Regions from separate parts of the Homo sapiens genome. Here all the other regions are linked to region 2. The links are contacts of gene promoters, found by promoter capture Hi-C in blood cells and fetal thymus (Javierre and others, 2016). All regions are on one chromosome and are shown on one strand. Each heading gives the region's core, a stretch centred on a gene start or on the middle of the fragment in contact. The rest is flanking DNA. Distances are from core to core; before and after follow the strand shown.

Region 1 (5,001 bases), core at 2,468-4,967, 3.5 Mb after region 2:
TCCCACTTTTATCTGCATCTGCTTTTTTGTTGGCCCCTATTGTCTCTGTTCTGTTCAATTTGGATTCTACTTTCAGTAGTTTCTCCCTAGTGTTGGGCTATGTTCAAGAACGGAGCTCCAGTTTGTTGGTTTCGAGAATTTACAGGCCTCACATCCCTCCAGCAGCTTCAGACCCTCCTGCTCATTCCTTCACACTTAGCTGAGCTTAGAGTCTGCTGAACAACCTGCCAGTTTTGACGCCGACCTCACATTGGTTTCCTCTGTTTTTTAGTGATTTTTTGTTGGCAGTTTTGGGGCCTTCCCATTCTGAGGGTCTTCAGATGATCTGTTGTCTTCCCACTATTCCCTCCTACACAGTTGCTGATATTAAGTTGGGTTTGCTCCTTCCTGTTCATATTTTGAGGTTTTAGGGATTCCTTTTCACCTAGTTATGTTATAGCTATCTTCTGGGATTTTGTTATTGTCTATCCTAGATGCTTTACCTGTTTTTATCAGGAGATTCAGGAAGTTCACAGACTACACTGCCTGTCTAATCACCTTCCCAGAGTCTTCAATATTCATATATTACGTGGGAGGATACCAGTAATATGTATGTATAAGTATGTAAATGTACAAATACATTTTAAAGTTTTTTTTCTGTATTTTTGGAGTCAGTCGAAATGCAGGTTGAAATGATTATAGATGAGTGGCCGATTCTTCCTTGTAGCTACCTTTCAAGTCATGTTTAAAAATGGGTTTCTTTTTGGCTTTCCTAGCCTGAAATTAAAGTACTCACAAGTGTTACTCTATTTCCACATCTCCTCAACTCCCAACTTGCTGAAGAGTATCCTAAGACTTAGAATTAAGCTTAAAATAATGGAATTTGTAATGATTGCCCAATGTTTTGAAATCAAACTTACGGAGGGGTTCATAATCATAGTTATTACTGTATTTTTATGTCCTAAAGTTCTAGTTCTGTCTGTAGCCTCCTTCTTATTCTACCAACTAGGGCCCAATTTAACAAACTGGTTGCCAACTGTCTGAATATAGCCCACAGACATATTTTATTTAGTCTGCTCAGTATTTTAAAACAAACAAAATAGCTGCCAACACTTTAAAACCAGATTTCATATTTATGGCTGTTCTTAAAAAAATGAGATCTGGTGCCATTAAGCCCATATTCTCTCCTGGAACTTTTATCCTGATTAAAGAGGAATTGCACTCTCAGGTTTGTGATACTTTCCTTCTAGACGCTTCTCTCATTTGCTACCTTCCAGTCCCCATAGATACTATGCATTTGTAACCCATGGAGTAGTATCTCTTTGAGTCCAACCTCTTATATTAGCTTAAACTACAAGTATGTGCTCATTCTTTTTAAAATCTGTTTCTACTCAGATGTCCTGCAGACTCCCCAGAATGCACATATTTTAAAACAAAACTATTTTTTCAAAACCTATTTTTCTTTTTTTTTTTTTTTTTCTTTTTTTTGAGACGGAGTATCACTCTGTCACCCAGGCTGGAGTGCAGTGGCAGGATCTCGCCTCACCGCAAGCTCCGCCTCCCGGGTTCACGCCATTCTCCTGCCTCAGCCTCCGGAGTAGACGGGACTACAGGCGCCCGCCACCACGCCCGGCTAAGTTTTTGTATTTTCAGCAGAGACGGGGTTTCACTGTTTTAGCCAGGGTGGTCTTGATCTCCTGACCTCGTGATCCGCCCGCCTAGGCCTCCCAAAGTGCTGGGATTACAGGCGTGAGCCACCACGCCCGGCCTCAAAACCTATTTTTCTTCCAGTATTCCCTAAATGACCCGGTTAATGTTACTGCATTCCTACAGTTGTCCAAGTTAGAGAAGCCCTTAGGGTTATTATCTCCTCCTTCTTCCTCATTCTATCCACAGCTTTTCAGTCATGTGCAAAACTATGACACGCTTAGGTCTTTGCTTTCACTGTTCCCAATATCTTAAACTTCTTCACTTTTCTGACACCTGTACAACTCCTACTTACTTTCCAAGATGAAACAAAATTATTTAATCTCCAAAACTATGTCCTCTGCCTCAAGGAGCATTTAGTTGCTTCTTTCAAAGTACAAGCATCTCAAGTACATGTTGTATGGTATTTATTTACTGCTGGCTCCCCTATTAGATTAAGGATTCCTTAAGCACAGAGAGCATGATTTCGTCATTTCTGTATCACCAATACTAAGACAAAACGCATAGAACTCGATACATGTGTCAAATAAATAAATACATAAATTTTACAAATCAATGAAAATATTGTTTCACATGATTTCACCGTCTTAAACTTTCTATATGTTTCAATTTTTTGTTAAATTGACTTTTGCTGGTGCTCTTTTGGTGCTTACTTTGGATTAATAATAGAATCATTTTAAATTTTGCACCAAATGACTACAAAGTTAAATGTCTATGTCAAAAGAAAATTTATTGACTTCATTATTAGAATATGAAGTGGTTTTTTTTGCTTTAAAACTTTGTTTAAAATATCTAAGGAGGCCAGGTATTAACTCTGAAAAAACTGTATAATTATTTATAAAACAGATCCCATAGGAGCAACTGAACAGCTGTGGAAAGATTTGGCACATCACTTTGCCAGCCTGAATTTAATGACCTACATGTGAAGGGCTACATATCCAATTACTAATCCTCCCTCAGCTACTCTTTGCCCTCATATGGAGGCAGCTGAAAAAAGATGCCCTACTAACAGATCAGAAGTGGATCCAGACTTTTTTGCCAGTGCTCAGTTAACAAAGATCTTTTAGGTTTGAGATGAGGAAGAAACAGAAGAGGGACTCACAACAGTGTTATAGCTGATACAGTGTTTCAAGTAAAATTTAAGGGCTTATGGCAAGAGTGACTTTAGTTTTGTAACTAAAGTCAAAGAAATTTCGGCTCTTTTAGAGAATCTCAAATTCTGGATTTAATTTTCTATTCACTGAAGCCTTTAAACATGTTCAAATATCTTCAAGGATAATTTACTTCAAAATTCTTTCTATATGAGAAGCCAGTCTTCTATTCAAGATGCAAACCTCATTCTTACCTTCAAATTCTGCAATAATCACCTATTAGAAGTAGAGGAGAAAAAAACTAAATAGAAAATGACAATCTACGGGGTTGTATTTCATTTCTCTCTCAGTTGACATGATCTATATATAGCAAAAGATTATATAAGGTCAAGTATTATAAACAATGAAATGTCATCTGATGTTTTGCAAAACAGCATAGGAAAAATAGCTCAAGGAATGAATAAAGAGTAAAGCTATGGCTGTTTTACTTCAGCCATAAAAAAGCCTTACAGATTCTAAATTTAAATGCATTTTATTGTGAATCTGACTCACTTTTTGAATTTAATTTTCCACTTGAGTTATGTAAAATCATGTGATATGGTAATTTTCTGTATAAATTAAAAATAATATAGGCAAGAGATGTTTTTCTCTCATTTTCAACACAGAAAAATTAGGAGCCTTTCTTCGTTGTTTTGCATTTTTAACAGTGGGACTATCTTAATTCCTTCATCCAATACTCACAAGAATATATGAATGAATACACGTCTGCAGGTACACACTTAATTCTTGAACGGGAAAAAACAGACATCACTGTAACTACCTCCCACTCCCAAAACACTAACTCCAGACCCCGCCCCGCATAAACCCCTCCCCTTTCTTCCATTGCGGGTTCGAAATGGCCGCAGTTCGATGACGTAAGACGCAACCGCCGTAGCCTCCACTGCGTAACTACCGCCCCTGCCTCTGGGAATTGAAGTTTCTGTGGAAGGAAGCGTGAGCCGTAACCAGGCCAACCCAGAAAGGCTTTCTTTCTGAGATTTCACTTCCCTGTCAACTCTTCAGCTCGGTAAGTGTCCTGGCACTGGTTGGCGCTCCCCCGCACTATGGTATTCTCTGGACGCAAAGGGGCGCGTGCCATGCAGCCCCCTACTAGCAACAAGGGCTTCCGGGGGAGAGGGGAGCAGTGGTGTGGAAGTGGTTTCCTGCGGCGCTCTTGCTGAAGGAAATGACGTCGATGACAGGCGCCCCCCGCGGCCTACCCAGCTGCTCCCTGGTTCGCCAGAGACAGCTTAATCCCGTCTCTGAAATGCGTTTGCTGGCTGGGAGCCTAGAAGGGATAGTGGGCGAGGCTCCGCCCCGTGGTGGGGCGCTTTCCGTCGGCGTGTGTTTTGGGGTTGCCATCGGCCCGTAGTATGTGAAAAGTGAGTTTGCAAAGAATCAGTGGGAAATCTGTACTCTAAAGGGCCGGAAAGCGTGTTATGGCCCTGCCACTTCGTGGCTAGAGACCGTGGGCTTTACCTCTTTAAAGCTGCCTTACCTCATTTTTCCTGCAAAGGGCTGACGTCGCTGAACTCTCTGAAATGTAGAGAGCCCGAGGGGAAGTTGCTGCAGGTGCTGTGAGCTGAGGACAGTTTTATAAAGATCGAAGTGTTACTTGATTTCACTGAAATACTTTAAATTTGGGAATTTTTCTACAGATATGAAGAGGATGGCAACACATTACTTGTCACTTTCTGAAAGAATTTCATCTGCCCCTTCCATTCCCAACCCTCTGCCCAAAAGGCTTGACAACTGAAGTGAACAAAGGGCTTTTCGCTCCTCCACGTTTAGTCCGCATGTCTTTTAAAAGGGCATTCCTGGCCGGGCGCGGTGACTCACGTCTGTAATCCCCGCACTTCGGGAGGGCAAGGCGGGTGGATCACCTGAGGTCAGGAGTTCGGGACCAGCCTGACCAACATGGTGAAACCCCGTCTCTACTGAAAATACAAAATTAGCCGGGCGTGGTGGCGCATGCCAGTAATCCCAGCTACTGGGGGGGCTGAGGCAGGAGAACTACTTGAACCCAGAAGGCGGAGGTTGCAATCAGCCGAGATTGCGCCATTGCACTCCAGCCTGGGCAACAAGAGCGAAACTCCGTCTCAAACAAACAAGAAAGGCCGGGCGCAGTGGCTCATGCCTGTAATCCCAGCACTTTGGGAAGCCGAGGCGGGTGGATCACGAGGTC
Region 2 (4,589 bases), core at 648-3,147:
TTAATACGAGCTAATCACAATGTAAAGGTGTAAAACATAGTCCCCACCCTTGAAGAAATTTAGTCTGCTGAGAATACTAATGGGTAAGCAAGTATTTGCAATACCATGTGACTTAGGCTGTTATCAAGTAAGCATTGTTGCTGAAGATTACAGAGGGATGCTGAAGAAAGCTACATCAAGAAGCATTGGAGTTGGCTTTGATTAGAGAACTCTCATAAAGTCTGTTCCAAAAGCCTCAAAAGTCAAAGGGCATTATTAGTAAAGCAGGAACAAAGCTAGATGTGATTACAGATTGTTAGAGCCAGCATTAGAAGTTGCTGAAACAATGAACAAGGAGGGACAATTTTACCATAGACCTCATATAGACACATGCAGAAACTAAGTCCAGTTTTTAAAAGAACATTAAAAAGCGCAACTTTTACCATCCATTATAATTAAATTTCTCCAACAATGTCTTCATCATAAGAATCACTAACATGTATTAAGCACCTGTGTGGCAAACATTGTGCTGATGGATTCACAGGCTTAGTCGTTCCTCCTCACCACATCCCTGAGGTAGGTGCTATTTTACCTTCATTTTACAGATGAGAAACATAAGAGGTTCAGAGATTTAAGTGATTTACTCACTTAGCTAGTGAGAGAGAGATATGGGACTTGCTCTAGTCTTACTGACGCCACAGTCTTTGTTCTTATCCCCTGTGACTGTTAGAAATCACTTAGCTCCATGTAACAAAAAACGTGAAAAACACTAAAGTTTATTGTCCTCACATAAGAAGTCCAGAGGAGTTGTTGCCTTGAGGCTGTCATCAGGGCCGCAGGCTCCTTCTCTTGCTGGTCCCTGTCGTTAATGTGTGCCTCTGGCCTCAGATGAACTCACTAAATGGCTGCTCTGTCCCACGGCATCCTATCTTCATTCCAGGCAAAAAGAAAGGGAGGAGCAAAAGCTAAAAGCCTTTCAGAAGGGCTTACTTTTCTATTTAAGAAGGAGGCCCTCCTCAGAAATTCCCACCTGCATTTCATTGGCAACATCTATGCTGCTTGGCCACCCCTAGCAGCAAACAAGGCTATGAAGTAGAGACTTTTGTTTTCCAGCTTTGACAAGTGAAAAAAGGGGAAAGTGAGTTGGATGGGTGCTGAGGAAACCAATTTATACAGTACATGTACAAGTAGCCTACACAATCACTCTGCTCACTGGCACTACAGATAAAGCACATGTTGCTATCCTAACCTAGAGGGCTCATGAGATCTAGTCCTTTCTTTTTGACCTTATATCTCTGTTCTCTTCAGCCAAACTGGGGTTTTTCGCTGTTAACATGTTCCCTTTTAAGCCTCCACCCTGTCATCCAAGTTTCACGTTCTCCCCAACCCCATTCCCAGTGTAGTAAAAGGCTCCTGGCATTCTGCCACTAAATGTGCATTAGTGTTAGAATATTCTGAGCATGAAAAAATAAAAATCACAACTGTATCTCAAACAAAAAGGATTTTTTTTTTTATTTCTCTCCCTTAAAACAATCCAGGCCAAGTGACAGGAAGGCTCCAGAATTTTCAGTGACCTGGGTTCCCTCTATTTTGTTGCTCTGCTATCTTCCACACGCAGTTTCCAGCTCAGCCAATCTCGTCTACCCTGGCACCGCATATAGTAGGCATAAACAAAACAGAGAAGTGGAGAGACTGAAGTGAAGGAAATGATTTCCGCATCCTAAGTAAGCTCTAAGGTGCTTTTCCACTTTTCACCTTCCACTTGGAATTCATAGTTCTACCTGAATTCCACTAGATGGCAGCACATACATTTATAAAGTGTATGGATGGAGCCACTAAACTCTGAAAGCAGGGAAACTACAAATCCCAGCATGCATTATTAAGCGCTTGACTTGCTTCCAGACAAAGGTTGTCTCAAGTTTGTTGCTCAAACCGAGTTCTGGAGAACGCCATCAGCTCGCTGCTTAAAGTAAGATTTCCTAATACTTTTGAAATGAAACTTTAGAACGGAAAGAGGGGAGGTTTAATTTTTAGATGTTGTTTTTTTCTGCACGTTGCCTGTTTCAAAATTAATCTGAGCAGTTAGATCAGTGTAAAGATGGGTTTTTAAAGAGCCTGAAACTCTGTGGTATGTATGTTTTATAAAGTAGCCCAAGAAAAAAGGATTCTTACGGTATCCTAAGTGAAGAGTTTTCTTCCTGGCTCTTGAAAACAATGGCTTCCTGAATATGCTGTTTGTGTCTCTGCTAATCAAAAATCAACATTTTGATTCTAACTTTTGGACTAAGGAAGCCAACATGTATGGTTTTCACATTGGATATATTGAGAGGTGCCTTGTTTTACCATTTCAGGCCGTGTTTGCTCTCATTTTCTCAAAGAAATCTGTTTTAGTTTGAGATTACAGTTTATCAAATGTTAAGGCTTTGACCCCAAAATCTGGTCCCAGAAAGACAGGAAGGCCAGCTAAGAGGAGGTTTTCAGAGTGCATAGAAAGGCTGCTCTGTGCTTCGGCATTTGTTCTGGAAGTGCTTCTTCGGTTGGCAAAGATTCCTAGCAAAACCTTTGACTGGAGGCTTTACAGGGCCATACACCCAATATCACTAATGACAGTGTTGTAAAATAGCTTTTGTGCACCATGCTTAGGATTCAAGGAGGATAAAGTATATCTTTCTAAAGTTATACTTTAGAAACTGTCATTCCATGTTGAAATGATAAACATTCCATGTTTATCTTTTGTGTAAGAAGTAAAAAAGCAAAAATTCATTGCATCAAAGTAGGTCAGGCACTGTTAAAGCCAAGCTTCCCCATCGCCTAAAAAATGTGGACAAACTCAGAGGAAGTCAGTGATTATAAGCTGATCCCTGGAGCCAGTTCTTACATAATTGTGTTAGTCTGCTCCTCCAAGAAGCAGACTCCAAGATAGAATTAAATATGCATGGATTTTATTAGGGGAAATGCTGTTGTGAGAGAGAATGAGGAGAGAACTAGGTAAGGCTGTGAGAGCCATCAGACCTCGATGCAAGTCCACCCGCGAGGGAGGAAAAGAAGGAAACCAGGTTGAGTGGAAGCATCCCAGACAGCTGTGCAGTCTAAGAGAACTTCAGCAAGGTAATAAGGAGCTTCTCTAGCCAGTCATCCGTTGGGGAGGAGGTCTATGTCTCCCAGAAATGAGTCTGCCTTAGTAAGCATGCATGCTCAGGCACTGGCTTGTAACGGCCCCGAGAAGGTGGCCTCAGCACAAACCCAGAGAGGCAGCAGCAGCTGCGCCTCATTGTCCATTACTTCCTGGGGTCAGCGGTCTGCGAGGCACAGGCTCCTGGTGCCACAGTGGGGATTTAGAGAGGCCCGCAGGGCTTTGAGTACCATGAGACAATGCCATGAGATCTTCCCTTGGACCTGCAACAAGAAGGCCTAGGTTTGAATTCATAGCTGCAAAACACTGGGCAAATAACATTTCTTTGAAATTAGCCACGTTGGTGATCAGGTCCTACCTATCTCATCTCTGAAACACTTCTCCAATCCACCTATCTCTCCATCCCTGCTATTTTCTCCAGCCCTGCTATTTCACCAGCGCCCCCACTAGATAACCCTAGCAGCCTCCTAATGGCACCCCATGCTCCTGCCCAGGTATGTTCTCCACAGCAGTCCTTCCAAAATACGAATCTGATCATTTCACACCCTTTCCATAAATCCTTCAGTGGCTGTTGCCTATAGGAGTAACTTGCCCTTCACCATGTGGACCTTGGACCAAGTGTGGAGGTTTGAAATGGAAGAGCATATTGGGTATAAAAAAAAAAAAGTTTGGCTAAAGAGAGAACTGAAATAAGTTCAAAGAGAAAGGACTAGGTAATATAAGCCCTTTAGGCAAGGCTATCAACCTGTACAAAATCAGGCAGATAATGGAACAGAGTGATTGTGTAGGCTAGTTTGCATGTACTGTAAGTTGGTTCATCAACACCATCCAACTCACTTTCTCCTATTCTTCACTTTATCAAAGCTGGAAACAAAAGTCTCAACTTCCAACCTCTTTGCAGCTAGGAGTGGCCAAGTAGCATAGATCTGGTGAATGAACTGCAGGTGGGAATTTCTGAGAAGGTTTCCTTCTTAAATAGAAAGGTGAGACCTCTCTGAAAGCCTTTTGGCTTTTGCTCCTCCCTTTCTTTTTGCCTGAAATGTGGATATGATGCCTTGGACAAAGCAGCCACTTTGTGAGTTCGTATGAGGTCAGAGGCACACATTAATGACAGAGCCCAGCAAGACTTGGAGCCTGTGTCCTTGAAGACAGCCTCATTTGATGGTCATTTGGCTCTTCTCCACCCCCAGCCTCACTACTAGCTCTTTCTCTCACTTTGTGATCTATAATCCAAGCACTGGTGAAATATCTCATGCACATGAGCCCCGGTGTCAGTGTTTCTCAATCATTTAGAAATTACTGATTATGCCTGTTAATGTGTTACTACTGCATGCTTAAACTTTATAAGAGGATCGGCAGCATTGTGGGCTGGACTGTTCACATAGCAAGAGTCTGGAAGTCTAAGTTTAGTTCTGGCTTTCCCATTGACTGGCTCTATGACATTGGGCATGTTTCAGCAGTTTCCTCATCTGTAAAA
Region 3 (4,416 bases), core at 1,090-3,589, 3.0 Mb after region 2:
GCTCATACTGGTCACAACTAAAAACTTCTCTCTCTCTCTCAATGCCCATGGTCCATGAAAAACTCTAGCACTACCTTTTCTTTGATAAACCTTGGGAATGCAGGCTAATACCTCAGCAACAGAAACTCGCCTGGCTATGCCACCAAAGAAAGCAGTTAGCCAGTCCATCTCTGTCCACTCAACTCCCAGAGGCAGGGGGCACAGGCAGAGCTCTCTGAGTCATCCACTTGAAATCTCTTTTTCAAGTCTTGAAGTTAAGCTATAATCCCCATATATCCTCCCTTTCAGAGATTAGCAAAGAGATAGGGCTCAGAACACAGCTTTCTCCAAAGATTCCTGCTTCAATTAATTGCTATGTTATTTGGTGACAGATAAATGACGATGCTTTTTTTTTAAGCAAGGGGATAGCCAAATTGATTATCAGGTGATTATCTCTGATTGGGCCACAGGTTTAGCTTCAATAGTTTTGTAAATATTCTAGTTCTCACTTGGGGAGTTCACATAAGTCTTGTTTTATTATCATGCATTGTAACCTACATTTTTTTCTCTTTTAATCATTACATGATAAAAAGGAATTTTAAGTAGATAAGTAAGTAAGTTAACCAATATGTACAAACCAACCTAACACTTAATGATGCAAACAGTGATTAATTATTGCTTGGATTGTGTCTGCTCTGTGTGGTGCACTCAGCAGGTGGAGGGGCTGAGCATGTCTCCAGTTGTGGTGCTGGCTCTTAGCTGGGGCATTTTGGTTCTCCCTCACACGCCGTCTCTTTCTCCGTGATTTCCCATCTTCAAGAGCTTTTCCTCATGACCTTCCTCTTCAGCAGGATGGCCTAGATTTCCTTACGGCATCGAGGACGAGATCCAAGACAGCAAAAGCAGACTCTGCCAAGCCTCTTAATGGCAAGGCCCTGAAGCAGCAGAGCTTCACTTCTGCCACCTCCTATTGGTTAAAGCCTGTCACAAAGCCTGTCGAGATTCAGAAAAAGAGAGATAGAACCCACCTCCTGATAGAAAAAAGCTGCACATGCATAAAGAAAGGAGAGGATTTGACAGCTATCTTTGAAGAGTATCTGCCCCATTAAGCCATGGGATATTTTCCCCATAAAAGAAAGGACTATGATCTGGATTGTAGAAACTGATCTATAGACATGAATCTGAACTTAAGAGAATTTGACTAATTCCATCTGTTCAAACTGTCATCACTCACACATATTTCTGTAAGTATTCACTCTCACATGTTAGCATCAATAAAGATTTCATGAAAAATAAAGAGTCTTAATTCAGAGAGGATGAAACATGCAAAAACAGTTGTGCCATCAAATTATTTGTACCTAGCAAACTAAACATCCTCCAACAAAATAAATATTTGTAAGGAGGAATGCTTGACTACAAAACTATTTACAAATATGAAAATTAAACAAGAGTTAATTCTAACCGATGTCAACTTAAGAAAGTGAAAACGTCTTCTGCCCTGGCTTTTCCATTTTACTACCCTGTAACTATTAATGGAATCACTCTATCCCCATCAGGGAAGCTCAGATTCTCTAAAGGTAGTAATGATTCTTCCTTTCTTCCCCTTATCAATTATTCCTTCATTGTATGTCTCACATTCACCCCTCCTCTTCAGCTCCTTATCCACAATATAGCTCAGATTTTCACAGCATTAAAATAAAGGGACTATAGTTTCCTCCTATCTCTGAGTTCATGCCCACTCCGAGCCCAGTACACCTGAACAATGGTATTCCAAAAATACGTCTCATCTTCCCATGTTCCCACTCAAAAACTTCAGTGGCTCTTCACTCTCTCCACCGCCCTGGTCAGGGCTGGGAGGATGGTTTTCACATGCCATGAAGGGATTTTTTTTTTCTTTCTTTTCTTTTTTTTTTTTTTTTTTTCAAAAACTAGATGCCTCTCATTGGAACTTTTTACTAGATGGCTGCCTGTGCCTGCTCTTCTCCCCTCCCCACAAAACACACTCACATGCACTCAAGAAAAGAGGATAATAATCACTGGTCAGAGTGTATCACATCCCCAGGCGCTGGCCTAGGAAAAAAAAAAGTTTAAGAACTACTGGACTATAAAAGAATGTCCAAATTCCTTGTCAGGTACTTGAACTCATATCCAATCTATTTATCTTCTTTATATTTGTTTCCACCAAGCCTGACTGAAAACCTTTTACTACTAGAAACAGGATAAAATCAGTTAGGGAACTCGGTCCCCACTATTGCCAAGTTTACAGCATAATGGGAGAGAAAAACACAACATATTCAGAACATGAAGGTAGAAAGCCAAGGTGCCAAAGGCAGCGAGGGAATGCAGGCTCATGGTTCCAGAGCAAAAAGGAGAGCTCTGGCCTCCTCAGTCATCCTGGATTAAGAAGAAGAGTTTCTCTGCTTGGGTGTCATATAATAACTTCCTCTCTATGAAAATGTTGTACAAGCAACTGTTTATTCTCTTATTCCTAGTCTCACCTCATGCCAAACAAGGGTGTGGGCAAAACAGCAGGCTCAGGATCCAAGACAACATAACAATTTTCTGACAGATCCTGAAAACAAGTAAGATATATTCTGGTAGATTTTGCTAACCACCCAAAGTGTCTAAAGTGGGAAAGAAAACAAAATAAAACAAAAAAAAAGGAGAGACTGTGGGTATGTGTCATTCATTCATATTTTGTAAGTTGCCCTACTGTTTGTTTTGTCAGCTATTTTTAATAATAATAAGCAAAACAGAAAAACAGAGTCACAAATAGAAGATGCATATTTAGGGTCTCTAGCTAAGCAACAGGAGATGACAAAGTAAGAAACAAGGTCAGATTCTCCTGAAACCCAGAAAGGGTTGACTCATACAAGGGCCTCATTGTGTACCTCTCTGACTTCCACCAGAGGGAGCGTGTTCTGTGCGAGCGAGCACGTCTGCGTTTGCTAATTATCCTCACAGGACAGCGGGGACTGGAAGGTGGAAAGAACACAGGCAAAGCTGGCTTTGATCCTGGTTTCATCACTTTCTTGCAACATAAACCTCAGTTTCCTCAGTCAACTTTCTTTCCTCTGTGAAAATTAAAAGATAAAACTTTCCTTGCAGATAATTTGGTGAAAATTAAGAGATGATAAGCGTGAAGAGACTGGCTCACAGTGGACACTCAATAACTTGCAGCTACTATTAATATTACTTTTGTTAACCCTAAGCCAAGGCCACCACTCTTTAACCCATAACCATATGCCCCAGTGAAAAAGCACAGTGAGACCACCAGTGTTAGCAAATCTTCCCAACAACTCAAGAAACCATCAAAACTCATGAGCTGTAGGAGGGTAGGCAAATACTAACTTCTTTAAGTTTTTTCCTCATACACATCAGGATAATAACATCAAACTTCTAAGGATTCAAGAGAAATTATTTTAGATTTCAGTTCGGGTTAGAACCTGGCACATAAGAAGGCTCAATAAATGGTAAATGTTGTTATTACCATTCCTCTTTTTCAAATTTTAAAAGTGAGAATAGATTGACATTGTTCTTTTCAAGAGGCTGAATTTTCAGACATCTTCTCTACCAAATGATGTCACCCCCTGTCTCCCATGAGCACAGATGAAATTAAGACCCCACCTTTGAATGTTCCTTTTCAGATCTTCTTTTTCCTTTCCTTACTTTGTTTTCCTTTGAAAGTGGCCATTGATGTTTTTAAAAAGGGTTCTACTAGTTTATCCGTTGTATCTATTTTAAGGCACTGTTGGGTGGGGAGATGGTAACGTGAGCACAAATAAATTACATCATTATCATTTTCTCCTACGTTGACCATGGTTAAGGTTTTAGTCATGCGCAAGTGACTTAAAATTACATAATATGTATTTTGGCAATCCATCCTTGCTGTAGTTCAGCTCCCTGAATTTCAGAAGAAATGGGCCACTTAATAAGCCTCATCCAAGGGACTTCAGAGTCATTTCACCTTCATAAATCCTTGGAATTTCTACATGATAAAACTAGATTATGCAGAAGGTGTAATACATGAGGATGAGGCATATTTCCAGCAAATACGTAAGCACTGGGAGACTAATAATAGCCAAACACCTTACTCTACTAACAATTAGGAGGAATATAAGAAGAGGGTGCTTTGGTGTTTGAAGCGTCTAAGCCTTGGTTTCTTATTTTACACTTTCGTTTGGAGGGCAGATTGTTTTGAGTCAACATAAAGTGACTTCAGCTGAAGGGAGACTGGGATGTTCACAGTGGGCCTATAAACATTTTTAAAAACATCATTCAACGTTGATTCTGCCTTCACGGAGAGCCTACACTACACCAGGCACTGGGTTGGGCACTGTGACAGGGCTGATTCAAATAAACCCTTATGATATTTCCCTGTTGCTAAACTTCCAGAGTATTGACTGGCAATTTTTGGCCAACCTTCAAGCCTGATAC

Evidence for each region. Contacts are between HindIII fragments. The CHiCAGO score rates a contact against its expected background, and 5 or more counts as called.
Region 1: the fragment with the promoter of TRMT10A here is called in contact with the fragment with the promoter of BDH2 in region 2 in 1 of 17 cell types (non-activated CD4 T cells); the score reaches 5.2 in non-activated CD4 T cells.
Region 3: a contact is called between a fragment that was not itself captured here and the fragment with the promoter of BDH2 in region 2, in 3 of 17 cell types (non-activated CD4 T cells, naive CD8 T cells and total CD4 T cells). The highest score is 9.7, in non-activated CD4 T cells.

The regions. Positions count from the first base shown.
Region 1 is chr4:99,562,755-99,567,755 of GRCh38, reverse strand. It overlaps TRMT10A (tRNA methyltransferase 10A), which reads left to right and starts at 3,717. Exons shown (of 8, transcript NM_001134665.3): 1 at 3,717-3,843. It also overlaps a transcript of MTTP not described here. RefSeq lists enhancers at 3,639-3,698, 4,049-4,178, 3,414-4,613. The HindIII fragment of the contact is 8,482 bases long and covers 849-5,001 here.
Region 2 is chr4:103,097,142-103,101,730 of GRCh38, reverse strand. It overlaps BDH2 (3-hydroxybutyrate dehydrogenase 2), which reads left to right and starts at 1,897. Exons shown (of 10, transcript NM_020139.4): 1 at 1,897-1,948. The HindIII fragment of the contact is 3,413 bases long and covers 1-2,780 here.
Region 3 is chr4:100,094,676-100,099,091 of GRCh38, reverse strand. No RefSeq gene overlaps it. Among named protein-coding and RNA genes, the nearest start is that of DDIT4L-AS1, 93 kb to the left of the region's middle. The HindIII fragment of the contact is 4,881 bases long and covers 1-4,416 here.